Linked DNA regions of Homo sapiens: region 2 is linked to region 1. The links are contacts of gene promoters, found by promoter capture Hi-C in blood cells and fetal thymus (Javierre and others, 2016). All regions are on one chromosome and are shown on one strand. Each heading gives the region's core, a stretch centred on a gene start or on the middle of the fragment in contact. The rest is flanking DNA. Distances are from core to core; before and after follow the strand shown. Region 1 holds the start of HDAC11-AS1 (HDAC11 antisense RNA 1). Region 2 overlaps IQSEC1 (IQ motif and Sec7 domain ArfGEF 1).

Evidence for each region. The method cuts DNA at HindIII sites, captures the fragments that hold promoters and counts their contacts. A CHiCAGO score of 5 or more calls a contact.
Region 2: a contact is called between a fragment that was not itself captured here and the fragment with the promoter of HDAC11-AS1 in region 1, in 1 of 17 cell types (naive B cells). The highest score is 6.2, in naive B cells.

Annotation. Positions count from the first base shown.
Region 1 is chr3:13,478,577-13,481,915 of GRCh38, reverse strand. It overlaps HDAC11-AS1 (HDAC11 antisense RNA 1), which reads left to right and starts at 1,863. Exons shown (of 2, transcript NR_046690.1): 1 at 1,863-2,273. It overlaps HDAC11 (histone deacetylase 11), which reads right to left and starts at 1,610. Exons shown (of 10, transcript NM_024827.4): 1 at 1,567-1,610; 2 at 522-670. The coding sequence starts at 1,568. RefSeq lists enhancers at 889-1,545, 2,195-2,254 and a silencer at 1,245-1,734. The HindIII fragment of the contact is 8,461 bases long and covers 230-3,339 here.
Region 2 is chr3:12,999,500-13,002,838 of GRCh38, reverse strand. All of the region lies in intron 1 of IQSEC1 (IQ motif and Sec7 domain ArfGEF 1), which reads left to right. Among named protein-coding and RNA genes, the nearest start is that of IQSEC1, 72 kb to the left of the region's middle. RefSeq lists a silencer at 1,316-1,610. The HindIII fragment of the contact is 4,704 bases long and covers 1-3,339 here.

The sequences.
Region 1 (3,339 bases), core at 614-3,113:
AGAAAAATTGTTTGAACCTGAAAGGCGGAGGTTACAGTGAGCTCCTGAGCCTCTGCTGCGATTGTGGTGCCTACCCCGAGGGCTGCTGTGAGGACTGGACTGGAATTGGGTGCACATGTTTCCTAATCATTCTAGGACACAATTTCCCCCATCTGTAATCAAGAGAGGTGCGGTGGAGGTGCTCTACCTCCTGACTCTCTGAACCTTAGGAAATGGACTCCTCCAAGCTTCACCTTCCCTGTGCCCATCAGTAATCAGCTACCTTTCCACTAGGCCTCTTGGGCAGAGGCAGGACTTAGGCCCACAGGATGGGGAGCCAGGGAGAGTCTGAGTCAGGGACATCATATCGTGATTAGGAGTCTGTGTTGGAAAAATCATTTTGGGCGGAAGCATGGGTGGAAGGCCATCCGAGGGCTGAAACTGAAGATGGGAGAGAGCCTGAGGCTTATGTTGGGGATGAGGACGGAGAGGACAGGTGGGTTGGAGGAAGCAGATGAGAGTCCAAGGGGGACCTTCCATACCTTTTAGGAAATTGATCACTTTGCCCCATTTTCCGGCATCAAAGGGATGCAGCTTCTCCAGGCCCATGAAGGTGATGTTGTAGCGCGGCGAGTACACGATTGGCCAGCGTGTCTCTGGCACATGCTGGTACAGCTGGGTTGTGTGTAGCCTACCGTGTGGAAAAAGACAGACGCACAGCTGGGGCAGCCTCGGCAGAAAGCAGCTCCCTCCCGAGCCCGCCTGGACTGACCCACCAGCCATTGCCCAGCACCACTAGCCCCTCAGCCGCAGACAAGGGCCCCTCAACAACAGCTGCTTAAACTGGCTGCCTTTCCCGGAACCCAATTCCAATCCAGTCCTCACAGCAGCCCTGGGGGTAGGCACCACAATCGCACCAGAGGCTCAGAGAGCAGACCAGGTGTGCCCAAGGTCACAGTGCAGGTCTGTGGAGAAGCAGGCGTGCACTCAGGTGTGTCTGGCTGCAAGGCCTCCGCGCATCACCTCTGCACCGTAATAAATGCCCCCACAGCTGTGTGGCACAAGGCTTCGGCTGCAAAATGTGTGGCTGTTGTGAGGACTCAGAGAATGCAACTGAGGAGCTGAGCACAGTAAGCACTCAGAAACCCAAGTCGGGACCCAACCTGAGCCAGGGCGGGGGGCGGGGATCCCCTGACCCCGCTGCGCTGCTAACCCTTCCCATCACACCCTGGCAGTCGTCACCCAGAGACAGAAATCCGCCCCAGTGGCTGCCTCCGTGGGGGCGTCCGCGTAGCCAGGGGGCTGGGCAGCGCAGACGTCAGACCCGCGCACATCGCCCGACCGCTCCGGGTCCGGGCCCAGGCCCGCGGCCGGCGCGCGTCCCTCGGGCCACCGAGCAGGGGCGCGGGGCTGGCCTGGCGCGCCGGGAGGGCCTGGAAACACCCGTCCCGAGCGTCCCTCACCCCTCACCAGCAAATCTGGGCCCTTACCTGGCGCGCCCGCCCGGCCGTCCCCGCCCTCGCCCTAGCGCGCCCGCCCACCGGGACCCCTGGGAGCCCACCCCCGCCCTCGCCCCGCGGCACTCACATCCCGGGGCCGGCCCTCCCAAAGCTGGCCGCAGCTCCGCGACCGGGCGGGGCGGGGCGGGGCGCGGGTGGGGCCAGCCCAGGACACGCCCCCGGGCTTAGCCGCGTCCTCTGGGGGCAGAGCTCTGGCCGATTTGGCCCGCCCCGCCAGTGTTGCGACACAGAGAGCCTGCCCGCAGGAAGGCCACCCCCAACGCCCATCAAGCCCGAAGTCCCGCCTCCGCAGGCAAATACCCGGTGGAATCCCGCCTGGTTCGGAAGCTCCGCCCCCTGGCGGGAGGGCCAAGCGGGTTTCACCCCGGCCTCGCGGAAGGGGCGCGACCACCGTATGTCCTGTTCCTGCGCTTCCCAAGCTGGGTAGAAACGGCGAGAGGCTGGGGGTTAGAAACGACAGGTTCCCGGCGGGCTGTGCCGGGGCTTCGCTGTGTGACCTTGGGCTGGCGTCTGGGCTCTCTGGGCCCTTGTTTCCGCGAGTTAAACGTAGGGGCGGGGGAGTTTCTCTGGCCCTGCCGCCTGTGACCTAAGGAGCCCCGTGACCTCTCCGACCCGAGCCCACCCCCGGCCCAGTCTGCGAGCAGCTCCGGGACAAGCACTCCCGGCGAAGACATGTAGGCTCTCAGAGCCTGCGTTTCCCTCTGTAGAGCAGGCCTAGTTACTGTCTTCAGGGTGCACGCGTCTCCGTCCCCGACCCGCACCCTCACCGCCGGGGTAAGCTGAGCCAGGCCCAAGCGACAGCTGGGGTTGTCCGTGGGGCTGCAACCCAGGAGGAGGCCCCAACAATAGAGCCCCAGAGGACGGAGACAATGGGCCTCTCTGTCGGCCCAGCCGTCCCCGCCATCCAAACAGAAGCAGCTGACGGAGGACTGCCGGGCTGGGATCCCTGGGCTCCGCGGGGGCGGCTGTGTGCCAGGGCGGGGCACAAGGGAAGCGCACAGACGTTTGAAGAGGGGCCCCCGTGTGCCTGCCATGATTGCATGATGGCATCTGAGCCTCACAACCTAATCCTGAGAAAGGTGCCATAATCACCCCAACTTTATCTTGAGGGAACTGAGGTTCGGGCCTGGATTAAACCCAAACTCGGCCACCCGCCAGCATAGTGGCTTTGGGCAGGTTGCTTCAGCCTTCTGGTCCTTCATGTCTGCATCTGAAAATGAAGTACTGGGCCGGGTGCGGTGGCTCACGCCTGTAATCCCAGCACTTTGGGAGGCCGAGGCGGGTGAATCACCTGAGGTCAGGAGTTCGAGACCATCCTGACCAACATGGTGAAACCCCGTCTCTACTAAAAATACAAAAAATTAGCTGGGCGTGATGAAGGGCGCCTGTAATCCCAGCTACTCGGGAGGCTGGGGCAGGAGAATCGCTTGAACCGGGGAGGGGAGGTTGCGGTGAGGCCGCGCCATTGCAATCCAGCCTGGGCGACAAGAGTGAGACTCCATCTCAAAAAAAAAAAAAAGGAAGAAAATGAAGTTCTGGTTGCACTTCATTCTCTGGATTTCATGGGCAAGTCCAGGGAATCAAGAGACAATAATGTTGATTATTATTCAGAGACCATCTGTCATGTGCTAAGTTGAAGTCCAAATGCTTTTTGCTTGTCGAACTCTTCTGACAGTCCTAGGAGGCAAACTATTGTCATCCCCATTTTATAGATAAAGAAATTGAGGCACAGAATGGTGAAGTAACTCACTCAAAGGTCAGGGATGTGGGCAGATGTAAACCACAGAAGGAATAAGTACTATTTTATAAAGTGACAGAGTGCATGCAGTGGCCCTGTGGC
Region 2 (3,339 bases), core at 303-2,802, 480 kb after region 1:
CCCACATTTGTTATTGTCTGGCTTTTTGCTTCTAGCTGTCCTAGTGGGTGGGAAGTCATATCTCATTGTGGTTTTGATTTGCATTTCTTTGATGTGGAACATCTTTTCATGTGCTTATTGGCCATTCATATGTCTCCTTTGATGAAATGTGTATTCAAACCTTTTGCCCATTTAAAAATTGTATTGTCTCCTTGTTATTGAGTCATGAGTTATTTGCATACTCTACATACAGGTTCCAGTATCAGTTATATAATTTTCTCAGTTTCTCAGTTCCTTTTTTTTTTTTTTTTTGGAGATCAGGTCTCACTCACTCACCCAGGCTGGAATACAATGGCATGATCATGGCTCCCTACAGTCTCGAACTCCTGGGCTCAGGCAATCCTTCTGCCTCTGCCTCCCAAAGTGCTGAGATTACAGGCATGAGCCTATGCAGGGCCTTATCTTTTTACTTTCTTGATGGTGTCTTTTGAAGTGCAAAAGTTTTTAATTTTCATGAAGTCCAATTTATGAATTTGTAATTCTCTTGCTTATGCTTTTGGTGTTGTATCTAAGAAATCATTGTATAACCCAAGGTCACAAAGATTTCTTCTTATGTTTTTGTCTAAGATTTTTATAGTTTTAACTCTTTCATTTAGGTCTTTGATTAATTTGAGTTAATTTTTGTGTATGGTGGGAAGCATGGGCCCAAATGTATCCTTTTGTGTATAAATAGCCAGTTGTCTCAGCACTACTTGTTTTTTGTTGTTGTTGTTTGTTTGTTTGTTTCCAGATGGAGTCTTGTTCTGTCACCCAGGCTAGAGCACAGTGCCTAGATCTCAGCTCACTGCAACCTCTGCCACCCCCCACCCTGCCTCCGGGTTCAAGTGATTCTCCTGCCTCAGCCTCTGGAGTAGCTGAGATTACAGGTGCACACCACCACGCCTGGCTGATTTTTGTATTTTTAGTAGAGATGGGTTTTCACCTTGTTGGCCAGACTGGTCTGGAACTCCTGACCTCAGGTGATCCGCCCGCCTCAGCCTCCCAAAGTGCTGGGATTACAGGCGTGAGCCATCGCGCTCGGCCAGCACTACTTGTTAAAGAAATGATTGTTTCCAATGAATTGTCTTGGCACCTTGTAAAAAATCATTTGACAATATTTATTATTATTTTTGACCACTCCAGCTAAGGCCAAGACAATACATTTTTAAACATCATTTTCGTGAAGACGAAAACTCCTCCCCCATTTTAACAAAAGCATGCTGCAGGTCATCTGGACGACCCTCTACCAACTGAGCTCTGCTCCCTGATGTTCGTGGCTGCCTTTTCTTTATGAACATGTGGTCATCACAGGACCTTCCAGTGTAGCAGCGTTTACCACTGGATGCAGTGTTTCTAAAAGGTGGGGCCTGATGGAGCTTGGGAACTGTATTCTTAGAGGCCCATCAGTTCTTAAGTTTGAGAAACCCCTAATATAGAGCCATTTCTCAGACGGGAGAGCAGAGTTCCAGATAGGGAACATGAAATGTCCAACCTCATGCATCTATCAAGTGCCCACAAGCCAGCACAGGCAGTGTGGGGTAATGATAAGAACTCACTTAGGATCGGGCATGGTGGCTCATGCCTGTAATCCCAACACTTTGGGAGACTGAGGTGGGCGGATCACTTGAGGCCAGGAGTTCGAGACCAGCCTGGCCAACATGGTGAAACCCCATCTCTACTAAAAATAAAAAAATTTAAAAAAAAAGCTGGGCATTGTGGCAAGCACCTGTAATCCCAGCTACTTGGGAGGCCTGAGGCAGGAGAATTGCTTGAACCCAGGAGGTAGAGGTTGCAGGGAGCCAAAGTCGAGCCACTGTACTCCAGCCTGAGTGACAGCACACGCCTCTGTCTCAAAAAAAAAAAAAAAAAAAAGACTCACTTGGGTAAGTCACTCCCCATTCCTGAGCCTCTGTTTTCTCACCTGTAAAATGGAGGGCACACCACCCATCTCAAAGAATCTGCAGGAATAGAGATAGTTTGGATAAAGTATCTGGCACAGTGCTCTCTGACACAAAGTGGGTACCAGTTCATGGAAGTTGTGTTTATTGCAAGCCTGGGGCTGTGCCCACCAACTGGCCCTCCTTCAGCCCTCCCCTCCACAGTGCCTACTCTCCCCAGCAGGGCAGCCCTTGAGGGCTGGCTCCTGGCTTCAGCCTTCCCTCTGCTGCATATACCTCACCTGTCTGCTTACAGGGCATGGCTCTGTAGCAGGCCCTGTGCTCGTCCTAGTAAAGCAGTGATGAAGCAGACTCTATTCCTGCTTTCAGGGACCTTCTGGGCAGGTGGACAGAACCATTAGCTGATGACCACAGAACAGCATGGTAGCTGTTATTTTTATTAATAATAGCTAACATCTATAGAATTTCTGCTCTGTACCTGGCCCCACTGTCTCAAGATGTACAGGACACTGTGGGAGCCAAGAAGATGACGTCTAGAGGAGGTGACATTTTTAGAGCTGGATTTAAAGGATGGGTTTGGACTTCAGCTAATATACAAAGAGACATGAGCTTTCTATGAATTTTTGCCCATTTGATGGATGAAAATGAGATTATCATTTGATTTGTGTTTCTGTGTAAGGTCGTACATCTTTTTGAATGTTTACAGGCCATTTGTATTTCTTTTTCACTGAACTACCTGGTCAAATTGATTGGACATTTTTATTTTGAGTTGTTCATTTTTTTTGTTTTTGATTGATTTGGAATAACTCTTTATATATGGAGGAAACCAAGGGAATAGTATGTGCTAATACACAATGATATGAAATAGTACAGTGTGCTTGAAAAGCATTAGGTTTAGCCTAATTTTGAGAGACATAGTTGAAGATAGAGCTAAGCAGGGAGGCAAATGCTAGTTCCTAAGGAGCTTGGACTTTATTACACAGGACATAGGAGCTACAGAAGCGTTTAGAGCAGGGAAGGGATGTGATCGAATGTGTATTGTTGAAAATTACTTTGATAAGGGACAATAATGGACAGAGTGAAGAGCTAGAAGGGACAAATTGAGGCCAGAAAGTACAGGAGCTTGAATGTCCCCTGAAGAGTGTCTACCTGGTTTGGTGGGCAGTAGGGAGTCACAGAAGGTTCTGGGTAATGACCGATGGTGAACTGCAGAGACAATGGGAACTGAGAGTTGCCTGCTATACTTCCTGCTTTGTGGACAGCTATAAAGTGCAGGGGGCGGGACGGAGGCCAAGGCTAATCTCTGGGTGGGGTGAGCGGTTTTGTTTCCCAACATGACGCTTTGTTCCCCTAGATGTCCCCGCCCCACGTGGGCGCCCAGTGCTGTGTCATCTGTCCCCACACCACAGGACTGACCTCCAAC